Linked DNA regions of Homo sapiens: all the other regions are linked to region 3. The links are contacts of gene promoters, found by promoter capture Hi-C in human tissues and cell types (Jung and others, 2019). All regions are on one chromosome and are shown on one strand. Each heading gives the region's core, a stretch centred on a gene start or on the middle of the fragment in contact. The rest is flanking DNA. Distances are from core to core; before and after follow the strand shown.

Region 1 (4,649 bases), core at 1-2,500, 390 kb after region 3:
TTAATTGTTCTCATTGGATTGAGGGGCCTGTGCTCCTGCATAGGGCTCCCTCTGTGCAGAGACAAGGAGGTGGGAATCCCAGAGGTTGGGTGAGCTTCTGCAGGGGTAGACCAGTGAGAAGTGAGGGTGGAAAAGGGGGTTTGGGTTAGATGTAGATGGCCTTAACATTTACCCTTGGTCAGCTAAAATGTGTGGAAAGTTTTTGAATGAAAGGGAAAAAAATGATTCAAAGAGTAGCGTTTTAGAAGACTAGTCTGTCCGCAAGCCTGGATTAGGTTTTTGTTCCTAACCCACTACTTTTCAGACTTGGCTGTATATTTCAGTCACCTGGGGAGTTAAAAAAGTACTGAAGCCTGGAGCCCTCCCCCGCTAGAGATTCTGATTTAATCTGTTTGGAGTTAGGCCTGGGTTTGGGGAGTTTTAAAAGTTCCCCAGGTGATTCTAATGTACAGCCAAGCCTGAGAACCACCGCCCAATCCACTGATAAGATCTTGATATAGCCTCCACTCAGCCTCCACTCATCGAGCTGAACCACAGCACAGTGCTGGCCAGGAAAAAGCAATCAACTGATGGGAAAAAAAATAAAATTAAATTAAAAAGTACTTCTGGCTGGCTGGGGGCAGTGGCTCATGCCTGCAATCCTAGCACTTTGGGAGGCTGAAGTGGGTGGATCACCTGAGGTCAGGAGTTCAAGGCCAGCCTGGCCAACATGGCGAAACCCTATCTCTACTAAAAATACAAAAATTAGCTGGGCATGCATGCCTGTAATCCCAGCTACTTGGGAGGCTGAGGCAGGAGAATTGCTTGAATCTGAGGGACAGAAGTTGCAGTGAGTCAAGATCGTGCCACTGCACTCCAGCCTGGGTGACAGAGTAAGACTATGTCTCAAAAAATAAATAAATAAAAATAAAAGGTACTTCTGTGACAATATTTATAATATTCCACATAGTCCAACACCTTAGTTATAATAAGTTTTCACGTAAATGCTATGAATTTTTGCATTGGCCATGAAGTAGATGGGGACAAATGTGTAGACTTTTGGCAATGTATAGATATGGAAAATGACATCTAAAATTGCAATAAAAATGGCAAGATAAAACACTTTTATCATAGCCAAGAATTCAGTAGCCTAAAAGCAATTACAGCATGAAAGCTTGCAAGTATAAAAATATAAGTCCTCAGAAACTTGCTGCTGGAAGACCTGTTTCCAGATGTTGTGTGTCAGTGATTCTCAAACCTGAGTGTGCATCGACGTCGCTTGGAGGGCAGTCACTGATTGCTGGGCTCCAGTTTCAGATTTAGCAGGCTTGGGGTAGCCCAAGGATATGTAGTTTCAAAGTTTTCCCGGATGATACTGCCGGCCTGGGCACCATACTGTGAGAACCACTGATGCTTGCTGCCATGTAAGAACTGCTACTGCATGGGCCCAAATATTGTAGGAAAAGGGGCTTGATAAATGTGATAGAAGGACATGAGTTGTTTTGTTTTGTTTTGTTTTGTTTTTTGAGATGGAGTCTTGCTCTGTCGCCCAGGCTGGAGTGCAGTGGCGCTATCTCGGCTCACTGCAAGCTCCGCCTCCTGGGTTCACGCCATTCTTCTGCCTCAGCCTCCCGAGTAGCTGGGACTAAAGGCACCCACCAGTACGCCTGGCTAATTTTTTGTATTTTTAGTAGAGACGGGGTTTCACCGTGTTAACCAGGATGGTCTCAATCTCCTGACCTTGTGATCCGCCCACCTCGGCCTCCCAAAGTACAAGTTTTGCTTTTTATGTCAGATGACGGGCTTCTCTTGGGAGTTAGGGAATCTGTCCTCCTCCAGTTCAATCCAGCCCCTCCTCATCTCCGTGCTCTAGGGGGCACCTGTCTGAGTCTAGGTAGGGTAGGTAGAAGAGAAAATTGTCTTTTCATTCTCCTAATTGTCCTTTTAAAATGTACTACAAAGGGAGGTATTATATACATAGCTGTAATATTATATAACACGTTCTTTACTTTTCTTCCAGTAGAAAATATTTGTAAGTTCAAAGTTTTTTTTTTTTAACTTTTATGACTGTCTCCCCACCCCCCTTACCCTACCACATGAAAAATTTGAAGAGTTAAAAAAAAATGCTAACCATCCATGTCTTCCTTAAAACAGGTTCTTGCGGCTCATTCTTGGTGGTACATTGGAGGATGTCAGTCCTTGGCCTCCCCCTAGGTGCCAGCTTTTGCACCAAACAGCCTTCCTGGTAGAAAACACATTTGCAGTGTACCTTGGGCGGGAGGAGAAGCGGAAATCATTCTCAGATGTTAAAAAGAAACATGTTTCTAATTGAAAGCATGATGAGAAGGCACACATGAAAGGGCCTGGGTGGTGAGCTCAGGCCAAGGCACAGCTTTGAAAGCCCAGCTCAGTCCTTGCTGTGGCCACTTCTGTTCTCTTGGGTGGATCCCATTCCCATTCCTGTGACATTCCAGAAATAACCATGGCTGAGCAGGGACCCAGGACAGCATCTCAGATATAGCAACAAAGTTTGCTCAGTTGGTCAGGAAACTCTGATAGTTAGAATTCTGAATTCTAGAAACACAGAGCTTTTGAACTAGAATTCTAGAAGCAGAGTGTGGGAACAGCCTTTATTCTCATATTGTGGAGACCATTTTAGAACAAATCGCTGCTGCCCTCCTCATAACCCCCAAACACACACAAGTGCAGAGGCCAGGGTTAAGTGGCTTACTCCAAGGTCACCTAGGGAGCTGGCTCCATTTTTTTTTTTCTTTTAGAGAATCCTTCCCAACTTTCTGAAAATTTGTCAGCTTGGTATTCTGACACCCAAGGGCCATTTTAGAAAAATCATTACTTGCTGTAACGAATAGGCATCATATTGTAGGAAGATGGGAAAATTATTTTGTCTCTTTTATAGAAAATCAATAGGTTTTGAGGCTTTTAGGTCTTGGTCTTTTGGATCTTCATAACTGAGTCTCCTGTTGTTCGTTTTGCTTGTCTATTTTGTAATTGCTTTGTGGACTGAAGCTTGTTTTGAACTTTATGGGAGACTTGATAGTGTGATCTGCCTCAGGACCAACAGTTTATGTAAAAGGTGAGCTGACAGCAACAGGGCAGCATAGTAAATGTATTTGAACAAATAAAGAAGGGACTGAAGGAATCATGGCCATAAGCTTATGACATTACATAATAAAACTTAAGTCAGTAGCATGTACACTTCTTTTTTTTTTTTTTTTTTTTTTTTTTGAGACCAAGTTTCCCTCTGTCATCCAGGCTGCAATGTGTGGCACCATCTCGGCTCACTGTAACCTCTGTCCTCTGGGTTCAAGTGATTCTCCTACCTCAGCCTTCCGAGAACTGGGATTACAGGCCCCTGCCACCACACTCGGCTAGTTTTTGTATTTTTAGTAGAGATGAGGTTTCACTATTTTGACCAGGCTGGTCTCGAACTCCTGACCTCAAGTGATCCACCGGGCTCCGTCTCCCAAAGTGCTAGGATTACAGGCGTGAGCCACTGTGCCCAGCCAGTAGCATCTAAACTTCTAAGGGACCTTGCCTATCATAAAACCTACTTACTCTACCAATGACCCACAGCCCTGATAACTTCTCTTTTTAAATTTTTAATTTTGAGATTGGGTTACATTCTGTTGCTTAGGCTGGAGTGTAGTGCTGTGATCACGGTCACTGCAGCCTCGACCTCCTGAGCTCAAGAGCCTCCTGAGTAGCTGGGACTACAGGTGCGTGCCACCATGCCCAGCTAATTAAATTTTTTTTTTTTTTTTTTTGGTAGAGACAGGGTCTTACTACGTTGCTGAGGCTAATCTCAAACTCCTGGGCTCAAGCGATCCTCCCACCATGACCTCCTAAAGTGATGGGCTTACAGGCGTGAGCCACTGTGCCTGGACTGATAACTTTAAAACTCTGTTTGGTCAGGAGTGTGGTGATTCAGAGTACATACATCCTTGCAAATAGGAGATGAAGAAGTTGTTTCTTTTTGGTTGCCTTTCATTATTAAATTCGGAATGGTGCCTAGCACACTGGATTTTTATACAAACTAGCAGGTGTGTTTTGGGCGACTCTCAACCTTTCTGCCCTTGGTTTTCTCGTTTTCTCGTATGTCAAAGAGTAGATTGGACTAAATTTCTGACACAGTCTCTCGAAGATCTGATAGCCTATACAACATGAGGTCTATAGGAGAGCACTTTTTGGGGTTGGGGATTGGACTGAACTTTTGTTTTTTGCCAAGTCTTGGCAAAAAATTTAGGCTTAAAAAATTTTAAATTAAATTTTAAGTTAAGCGTATATTTAAATTTAAGCCACAGAACATAACTTTAAAATAATGGCAGAGCATTTTCTTACGATTTTTCCTGGATTTTCTGATGCATTTCTGGGAGGCAGATGCAGTAAAATGGTTAAGAATGATAGCTTTGGAGCTGGCTCACTTGGTTTCAAATCCGAGCTCTTCTACTGAGTAATAATTATATAATGTTTAACAAATCACTTAATCTCTGTTTCTGTTTTTTCATCTGTAAAGTGGGCACAATAAAATATCTACAAAACACGTTGCTGGGGGATTACATTTGTTTATATATTTTAGAACAGTGCCTGTCACATAGGAAGCCATTAATATTAGCTCTCTTCCCCCTCCTCCGCCCAACTGCCCCACCTTC
Region 2 (4,720 bases), core at 1,341-3,840, 310 kb after region 3:
TCTCCTGAGGAACACCAAGGACTACCTCACTCACTAAAGTGAACACAGTTAGCCCTTATAGATGGGAGAGACTAAGATCACAACCATGATAATAGCTAATATTTATTAAGCACTTACCTGCCGCATGCTGCACTAAAATACGTTACTTGGATTTGCTCATTTAATCTTCACAGTGCCCTATGTATTAAAACAGGGGATTAGACTAGGGAATGAGAAGCTACGGCCTGCAGACCAAATCTGCCCACGCCTATGCCTTATGCATTGTCTATGGCTACTTTCATGCTGTAACTGCATAGCTGAGTTGTTGTGACAGACACTGCATGACCCACAAAGTTGAAAATATTTACTATCTAGTCCTTTTCAGAAAAGGCTTGCCGAATCCTGTTTTAGGTATTATTTCCATTTTACAGGTAACAAAATTTAAGCTTGCAGAAGTGTGTGGTTTATTAAATCACAGAATGTCAATTTTTAGTCATATAGATCAAAGATAAAATTCTAAGTCCCCCAACCAACTGAATGGACCCCTTCTCCCAGCCAAGGACATTCCAAAGTTAATCTGAAAAACTAGTTCAGGCCATGATGGGAAAGGGGCAGTCAGATACACCTCATTATACCGTCCTTCCTTAGGAATTCAGGCACAACTGACCAGCATCAACATTAAAACAGGCCAGGCACGGTGGCTCACACCTGTAATCCCAGCACTTTGGGAGGCCGAGGCGGTTGGATTGCCTGAGATCAGGAGTTCGAGACCAGCGTGACCAACATGGCAAAACCCCATCTCTACTAGAAATTCAAAATTAGCCAGTCATGGTGGTTCACGCCTATAATCCCAGCTACTCGGGAGGCCTGAGGCAAGAGAATCGCTTGAAACTGGGAGGTGGAGGTTGCAGTGAGCCAAGATTGAGCCATTGCATTCCAGCCTGGGCAACAAGAGTGAAACTCTGTCTCAAAAGCAAACAAACCAACAAACATTAAAACAGAGACTTAAGACTGACAAAACTGACTCTTTGCAGTAATAAGATACCAACGTGACAGATAGCAGACCCTGAAAGCAACTGAAGTATATTTTTTTTACATATTCTGAAATGGCCCTGCAAAGCCGTCTCTTGTGGGGAAAATCTACATTCTGTAGAGAATCCCCTTCCCTTTCCAGGTCTTTTCCTTGATCCAGGAGATAATTACCTGAGTCTGGCATCTTTTTAAGTCTAATAAGAAACATTTACAATCTATTTTCTCTGAAGCCTGCTACCTGGAGGCTTCATCTGTATCAGAAAATCTTTGAATCTACCTATGACCTGAAAACCCCCTGCCCCACCCCACTTTGTGTTGTCCCACCTTTCCAGACTGAACCCATCTACACCTTACCTGTATTGATTGATGTCTTATGTCTCCCTAAAATGTATAAAACCAGGCTGCATCCCCACTACCTTTGGCACATGTTCTCAGGGCCACTGGGGCTGTGTCATGGGTCATGGTCCTAATATTTGGCTCAGAATAAATCTCTTTAAATATTTTATAATTTGACTCTTTTTGTCAACAGTCATGAAGACAAACATTTAAACAGCAGCCCCCTTCTGTGATGGCAGGTGCAGACTCCCCCCTACCCCCCATGCCACTGATGGGCCTTTGTAAGTGCTCAGTGAATGATAATGAATGATTTTCTTCCCTTCTCTTCTTCCCACCATCCTTCTTTGTAAAATCGAGGCCTCCTCCTCCATCTTTGCTCTAAATCCCCTCCCAGACAAGTTCTATTTTCTAGAGACAAGCGTATCTGAAATTGCAACCCTGTGGCTTCTCTCCACCAAGTGAAAAACACAAGAGACACATCAGTTTTTGGTACCTTTGGCTATAAAACCTCTGGAGGAAGTTCTGTTTTTCTGAAAATGGCTTTCTTTTACTGGAAGAGTTAGGGTGGTAAATCTGTAGAGCCTGAGCTGGCTACCAGGAAACACTTCATGATGGCTGAGAAATTATTCCGCATGCTGAACCTTAAAGGGATAACATAAAATGGCAGTCTTGACAGACCCCTTAGAATCTAACGCTGAGATTATCTGTTTCCAACTGCTTCCAGCTGAGAAGTGGCTCTCAGGGCAGCAATGAGTACTCAAAAGCATTCCCTCATAGAAGTGATTGTTCAAGGGGGATTCAAGAGTTTAATTCCTTAATGCCCATCCGGCTGTTTCCTAGATTCTTCCAGAACATGGGCCTTATGCCCCTAAATTCACTCCCATACCTAGAAGCAGAACTGGGAACTGAGCCCAGGTTGTTTGATACCAAAATTTGTGCCCTTAACCATGCATTTCACTCCCTTCTGGTACACAAATATCCAGGATCATGTATTTACTTTTTACAGATACTGTTATATGTGCTCATGTAAATTGTCTGGCAATTAGCTGCAAGAGGATTGTAGGAAGAGATTCTACCTATCCATCTCTTTACACCATGCCTTCTGAAGAGAAGATTTTCGGAGAGAATCCTTGGATTTAGTCAGGAATATTAGATCCCTAAATAAAAATGTCTAAAATCCTTTCCCCATTCTTTGTTGTTGTTTTTGAGATAGGGTCTCACTCTGTCACCCAGGCTGGAGTGGTGGTGGTGTGATTACAGCTCACTGCAGCCTCAACCTCTTAGGCTCAGGTGATCCTCCCATCTTAGCCTCCCAGTACACCCGGCTAACTTTTTGTATTTTTGGTAGAGATGGGGTTTCACCATGTTGCCCAGGCTGGTCTTGAACTCCTGAGCTCAAGCGATCCACCTGCCTTGGCCTCCCAAAATGCTGGGATTACAGACATGAGCCACCGTGCCCAGGCTGTTTTTTATTTGTATAAATTTAAGGGGCAAAACTGCAGTTTTGTTACATGGGTATATCGGGTAGTGGTGGAGTCTGGGCTTTTAGTGTGGCCATCACCTGAATAGTATATGTTATACCCATTAAGTAATTTCTCATCCTCATTCTTGGTTCCTTAAAAAACAACTGGCCCTCAAAAACGTCTAGGGAATGGTGTACAAATGAACGAATGAGTCAATGGATGAAAGAATTAATTAATCAATCTCCAGACCCTTGACAACTTAAGGATCTTGGGCACAGTTTATGCTCATGATAAACAAACAAAAAAAAGATAGTCAGCAGTTTTCTTATTGTGACATAGGCATCAGAAGGTTCACAATCATTCATTTAACAAACACTGAACCTTGACCATGAATTGCACACCGTATTAGGCACGGAGGACGTGACACGCAAGGTCTCTGTCCTCAGCACAGGCAGGACTCCAGAGATGAGGCTGAAGCATGGAACGTAGTGTGGCCACAGGAAGCTTCACCTGGGGCTTTGGCCAGTTGCTCATATGTAAGGAATAGAACATAGGGAGACATACAAAGATAGAAGATACCCTTTCTAGGAAGTGAAATGGGAGTGCAACATCCAGGTCGAGGATTGGGAAGGGTTAAGTGTAAGGTTCTCTGGCAGCTGGAAGATGTAACCCGATCCGTCTCAGCAGTAGCTTTTTAAACCTGGGCTTTAAAACCGGGAAACCTGGAGGAATCACAGACGCTGGGCTGGTTTTACTGGTCTCCCCTCTCTGCTTAGAAAGACAGCTCATGCCTTGTATAGCTAATGTTTCTTTGGTGGTGAGAGGGACTTCTGTATATTGCTCAGTTTATCCATATTGTGATGATTTGTACTAGTTGCAATTCTCAGAGTATGTCCTGATCTCCACAAACGGGAAGTTGAGAGGACAACAAAAGAGAGATGTTTTAAAAGCACTATTTTAATGACATAATTCTGTAAATATTACAGTGTTTAGACACAAATATAACAGGATTCTTTCTACAGAACTTTTTAAACCATTAATTTAGGATTAGGAAACTCCCCTCACTCCCCCTAGGGCCACTGCTTGATTTGGTTAAAGCAACTTAATTCAGGTTAGGGTAAAATTTAAGCAAACTCCATTGCTCAGCAAAATGCTGCCTGAAAACAGCTAAAGACAGGTCAGAATGTCCCTAACCAAACCTCAGGCATTATTAACCAAGACCTGCCTTAATTCTGGTTTATCTCATGATGACCAAGGAGAAAAAAGTCTTCCCCTGCTAGAAGTATTCTATGTCTATCACAAAGCAAGGATTGTGTGTTCAATGGTCATAAGAGAATGGATAATATACATAAGAGTTTAGAAGAGAGAGTAAACTGAAGTTAAGGTCATTTCAAAGGGCTTCATGGATGAAAGGATCTCAAATTCTAATTGAAGGAGAAGGAAGACTTAGTTGAGGAGGTGAGAGAATTTCAGAATGATATGAAGGGAGGCTTGGAAGCAGCAATTTGGGTGTCATATTTCCACAGACTAGTGACTGATCAGGGTCTTTTTTTTTCCTTCCAAAGAGTGAGAAGAAAAATATGAGGTTGGTGCAAAAGTAATTGAGGTTTTGCAAAGTAATGGCGAAAACCGCAATTACTTTTGCACCAACCTAAATAGGTAGATAAATGTAGTTGGAACAGAAGGTTTATTTGAGGATGTAGCCCAAGATTAGGTTGAAAAATTAAGAAGGAGGCAATCTGTGATGGGCCTTAGGTTTTAGAAGAGCAGACGAGGCCAGGAATTGATATGTAGAAGTGGAATAGTATTTTTTCTCCTAGTTTTCTTCTGTTTCTAGATTGCTTTGGTCACTATATAATGTCTTTCTCAGTTTGAAGGCAGACAGAAAGATTATCGGGAAAAAAATTAGG
Region 3 (4,980 bases), core at 2,135-4,634:
ATAAGGAAGTCAGGATTGCGAATAGCATTTCATGACCCTTCCATCTCCTTTCATATTCATTAACAGAGCTCACATTTAATAATAATTTTTAACAGTGTTTGCAAATGTTTGTGGCAGCTTTATTTGAAGTAGCCAAAAACCGGAAACAACTTCAACATCCCTCCACAGATGAATAAATAAACATTGTGATGTATTCATACAATACATACTCTTCAGTTATATTTTTTAAATGAACATTGATACGTACTATATAAGAATATCAAAATAATTATGCTAAGTGAAAGAAGCCAGAAAAAAAGTATATACTGTATGATTCCATTATATAAATCTAGAAAATGCAAACTCATCAATAGTGACAGCAGATCAGTGGTTGCTTGGAGTGTAGAGGATGGGGATGGCAAGAGGGCCGGATTATAAAGAGGAACAAGGAAACTTTGAGGAGTGATGGATGTGTTCACCGTCTTGATTGTGGTGATGGTTCATGGGTACATACCTAAATTAAAACCTAACAAATTGTACAGTTAAAATATGTGCACTTTATGCCAATTATACCTGAATAATGCTTTTTATAAAATTGTTGTATGAAGCTTAAAATCTGGTCTCCCAAGACCAATATTCTCCAGAAGGCTTCTCCTGACATAACAATTCTTCCTTCTTCTGACACCGTTGGTCCCCTGCTCTTTCCAAACCCTGTGTGCCTCGGAACAATGGCCCTGCAACCACCGCTTTCCTTCAGAGAGTGAGCCAGTCCTTGCCCTGTGCTTCCTTCTAGTCAGTGCAACCAAACTCTGATCTGGTCCTCCTTGACCCCTCTGATGCTCCCATGGCACCATTATTTTCTCCAATCTCCTAGCCTCTTGTAATACTTGTTGAATTTACATCTCCAGCCATCCTCCTTCCTATTTTTTCTCCTTTTGGAAGAAACGATGCAAAACCTTGTTTCCTTGTCACACAGTATTTCAAAATAGAGGTGTTATAATTGTATTTATTTTTTACTGTAGACCAAACATTACTATAAACATTTAGCTAGAATCACTAGTTTAGAGAAGATGAGATTTTGTAATAGGTTGGGAACTACTTGACATAAGAGACGAGAAAGGAAACAACATGGATTAGAGGCATAAAATAAGCCAAGGATAGTCCTAAATTCTGTTAAAAGTATCTCTCACTTACCTCATTCTTAGTCTTGAATATGGAGACTTCTGGCTTTCTATCTCCACTGGGCCCTGGAACTGTGGCAGCCAGAGCCTCACCTTCCAGGTAGGAGATTTAAAGAGTCTTTTGGAGAAATCTGACCAGCCCAAGAAAAAAAGACTTTTAGATAGTGACATACAGGATCCCAATAGACTCGTCAGCCAAGGCATTCTATACTGAATCCTACAGTAGATATTTCATTGCCTGCTCAATTTCCACTCACTATGTACATATTTTTAATCGAGACCATATTCCCCACCTACTTTATTACTGGAATTCACTTTGCTTGAAGGGAGATTAGGCAGACTTCAGTCACCATCATCATCTAGCATACCACATTTAAAACAAACCAACCTTGAATTTAACTGAAAGTTGCAAGTTTACTATGTGGATTAACGGGGTGCTACATACAGGTGAGGAACTTTGGCAGAGCGGCCAGTGTGTTTTTACAGACGTTCATCTTTAACAATTATCAAATTAGTTTAGACAGTGCTGGCTTTTATACTTAAGGAAATGAACAGACAACCTGGTCAAGTATCATTTTCTAGAAAAATAGTGGGGTTTTTTTTGTTTGTTTATTTTTTTGAGACGGAGTCTCGCTCTGCTGCCCAGGCTGGAGTGCAGTGGCGCGATCTTGGCTCACTGCGACCTCCGCCTCCTGGGTTCAGGCCATTCTCCTGCGGCAGCCTCCTGAGCAGCTGGGACTACAGGCGCCCGCCACTACGCCCGGCTAATTTTTTAAAAAAATATTTTTAGTAGAGATGGGGTTTCACCTTGTTAGGCAGGATGGTCTCCATCTCCTGACCTCATGATCCGCCCGCCTCGGCCTCCCAAAGTGCTGAGATTACAGGCGTGAGCCACTGCGCCCGGCCTGAAAAACAGTTTTTAATTACTTCTCAGTGGGAGGACATTTTAGGGCATCCGCTCTTCTCCAATCACAGTCAGGTCCGGCTTCCTTTGGTATCTGATGGCAATGGCTGAAATGAGCTGAGCTGAGTTCCTCTCCCTTCACATTCTGGAGTGGCTCTTTACTGAGTAAGAAAGTGAATTAACATTTATTTAGCTTCTTCCTTGGAGCTGGGTACCGGGTCAGCCTCTTTTCAGAGAGCTTTTGCTCTTGTGGTCAGAGTTACCCTGCAGTTTTCTCCTGGCTCTTACATGACATATCTCAGTACAGGTGTCAAGCCAATGGGACAAAGCCATAGTCCTGTTTTCCTTCCCTCCTTCCCTCCCTCCCTCCCTTCCTTCCTTCTTCCCTCCCTCCCTCCCTCTTTCCTATTGCCCAGGCTGGAGTGCAGTGGCACCATCTCAGCTCACTGAAACCTCCGCCTCCCGGGTTCAAGCAATTCCCCCGCCTCACCGTCCCGAGTAGCTGGGTTTACAGGGGTGCCCCACTACGTCCGGCTAATTTTTGTATTTTTAGTAGAGACGGGTTTCACCATATTGGCCAGGCTGGTCTCGAACTCCTGACCTCAGGTGATCCATCCGCTTCATCCTCCCAAAGTGCTGAGATTACAGGCGTGAGCTACCGCGCCCGCCCTCTAACTGTTTCTTTGGAGTGCTGCTAGGAAGATTCAAAGAAGTGCAAATAAGGTACCAGCGGAGGCTGGTTTGTCTCCTTGCAATTTCTTTGTGATCACCCCTGGGATCACTCTTCTACAGCGTTCCGACAGTGTTCCAAAAACTTCCCTGCACCAGCGGCAGGGGCAGATTTCCCACCCGGCCATGATTCATGTAGAGCAGTGTCAAAACCAGATCCTTTCCTTACACGCTCATTCGCCGAAAGACCCATGCTATGCTGACGGGGTTCCAACCTGGGCTTCACCGACTCCACGTCAGAGGGTCTGTGATTCCCTGAGAGGGTACCCTTAGGCTGAGAGCAAGGGCCCACCTGCACTCTGCGCGAAGGACTGTGGTTTTCATCGGGTTGTCGAGAGCGTTCTAACCCAAAATGCTTTAAGAATCACAACTCTAGCCCTTCTAATCAAACTGCTTTGGCCAAGACGTCCGTTTTGAGTTGCATTTGAACCCTAGCCCTCGGTGGGAGGCACACTCACTTCCACGTTCACAGTTCTTGGAAGCGGTCCCACTGGGGGCGGGGCTGAGCGCGACCGCGCCCTCAACTCCCCCTATTGCCCGCCCCGGGGTGGGGCATAACCACCCAACAGGCTCCTTACTCAAGCTCGGGTTCTTCTCCTAGGCGGAAGCCAGACCAGAGAGCGTGCGTGTTTTTCCCAGGGTGCCCCGCGCTGCTGTTATGGCCGCCTCCTTGAGGTAGTATCCGCACATGGAATTCTAGGGCCGCAGGTGTATTTACGGTAACTGTCGCCACTAGATTTCAGCGCCTTTGGACTCTCCTGTTTTCACTTTCTTTTGTTGACTCCCGTGTGGCCCTCGTGGGAGCCTGTTTTGGCTGCAGCGGTGTCTGGGGTGATGTGGACCCCGGAGCTGGCAATTCTGAGGGGATTCCCCACTGAGGCTGAGCGGCAGCAATGGAAACAGGAGGGGGTCGTCGGTTCAGGTGAGAGGCGCACCTACCGGGCCTTAGGCTATCGTGGGAACTGTGAGGAAAAGGGATGGCAGCGACTGATTCTCATCCCTCCCTTCATTTTTCCCTAACACAGTCTAGCTGATTCCTTGAGGCTTTGGGTCGTTTAGTCTTTGACATGGTGGGCGTGGTCCTCACTTTCTTTGCGCAAAACTTCTTACCGCCCAGGTTCAGTAATAATGACAATGGCAATGTCAGTTATTTTTCTAAGCCCTTAACATGTACTCAGTCATTTAATGCTTATAGTAGATACTTAAGGTAGATTCAATTTTTAATCCCATTTTGCGGTGAAGATCTGTAAATACAGTTGGGTTAAGTAATTTTATTTTATCTATTTATTTATTTATTTATTTATTTATTTATTTATTTATTGAGACGGAGTTTTGCTTTTTGCCCAGGCTGGAGTGCAATGGCGCGATCTCGGCTCGCTGCAACCTCCGCCTCCCGGGTTCAAGTGATTCTCCTGCCTCAGCCTCCAGGGTAGCTGGGATTACAGGCATGCGCCACCACGCCCGGCTAATTTTGTATTTTTAGTAGAGTCGAGGTTTCACCATGTTGGCCTAGCTGGTCTGGAACTCCTGACCTCAGATGATTCGCCTGCCTCAGCCTCCCAAAGTGCTGGGATTACAGGCCTGAGCCACCGCGCCCGGGTCTGGTTAAGTAATTTATTTAAGGTCACACTGTTGGTAAGCAGAGGAGCTAAAATGAGGCAGCAAAGTTGTTTTTTTGGGGGGATGGAGTCTCCCTCTTGTTGCTCTGGCTGGAGTGCACTGGTGCCATCTCGGCTCACTGCAACCTCCGCTTCCCCGGTTCAAGCGATTCTCCTGCTTCAGCCTCCAAAGTAGCTGGGACTACAGGCATGCACCACCATGCCCGGCTAATTTTGTGTTTTTAGTAGAGACGGCTTTCATCATGTTGGTCAGGCTGGTCTGGAACTCCTGACCTCAGGTGATCCACCCGCCTCGGCCTCCCAAAGTGCTGGGATTACAGCCATGAGCCACCATGCACGGCCTAGGCGGCAATGATTTATTTTTTTTATTTTTTTGAGACAGAGTCTCGCTCTGTCGCCTAGGCTGGAGTGCAGTGGCGCGATCTCGGCTCACTGCAAGCTCCACCTCCCGGGTTCACGCCATTCTCCTGCCTCAGCCTCCCGAGTAGCTGGGACTAAAGGCGCCTGCCACCACGACCAGCTAATTTTTTTTTTTGTATTTTTAGTAGAGACGGGGTTTCACCGTGTT

The links. The method cuts DNA at HindIII sites, captures the fragments that hold promoters and counts their contacts. A contact is called where the count stands out against the background at its distance.
Region 1: a contact is called between a fragment that was not itself captured here and the fragment with the promoter of TTC27 in region 3, in 1 of the 25 tissues and cell types used here (bladder).
Region 2: a contact is called between a fragment that was not itself captured here and the fragment with the promoter of TTC27 in region 3, in 1 of the 25 tissues and cell types used here (lymphoblastoid cells).

What each region holds. Positions count from the first base shown.
Region 1 is chr2:33,016,130-33,020,778 of GRCh38, forward strand. All of the region lies in intron 2 of LTBP1 (latent transforming growth factor beta binding protein 1), which reads left to right. Among named protein-coding and RNA genes, the nearest start is that of LTBP1, 72 kb to the left of the region's middle. The HindIII fragment of the contact is 3,658 bases long and covers 1-3,079 here.
Region 2 is chr2:32,934,675-32,939,394 of GRCh38, forward strand. All of the region lies in intron 3 of LOC100271832 (a long non-coding RNA gene), which reads left to right. Among named protein-coding and RNA genes, the nearest start is that of LTBP1, 9.9 kb to the right of the region's middle. The HindIII fragment of the contact is 5,102 bases long and covers 40-4,720 here.
Region 3 is chr2:32,624,666-32,629,645 of GRCh38, forward strand. TTC27 (tetratricopeptide repeat domain 27) reads left to right here and starts at 3,385. Exons shown (of 20, transcript NM_017735.5): 1 at 3,385-3,715. The coding sequence starts at 3,628. It overlaps LOC124905985 (a long non-coding RNA gene), which reads right to left and starts at 2,113. Exons shown (of 3, transcript XR_007086273.1): 1 at 1,968-2,113; 2 at 1,174-1,291; 3 at 98-505. RefSeq lists enhancers at 2,585-3,246, 2,965-3,024, 3,247-3,906, 3,435-3,494 and a silencer at 3,745-3,874. The HindIII fragment of the contact is 9,918 bases long and covers 1-4,980 here.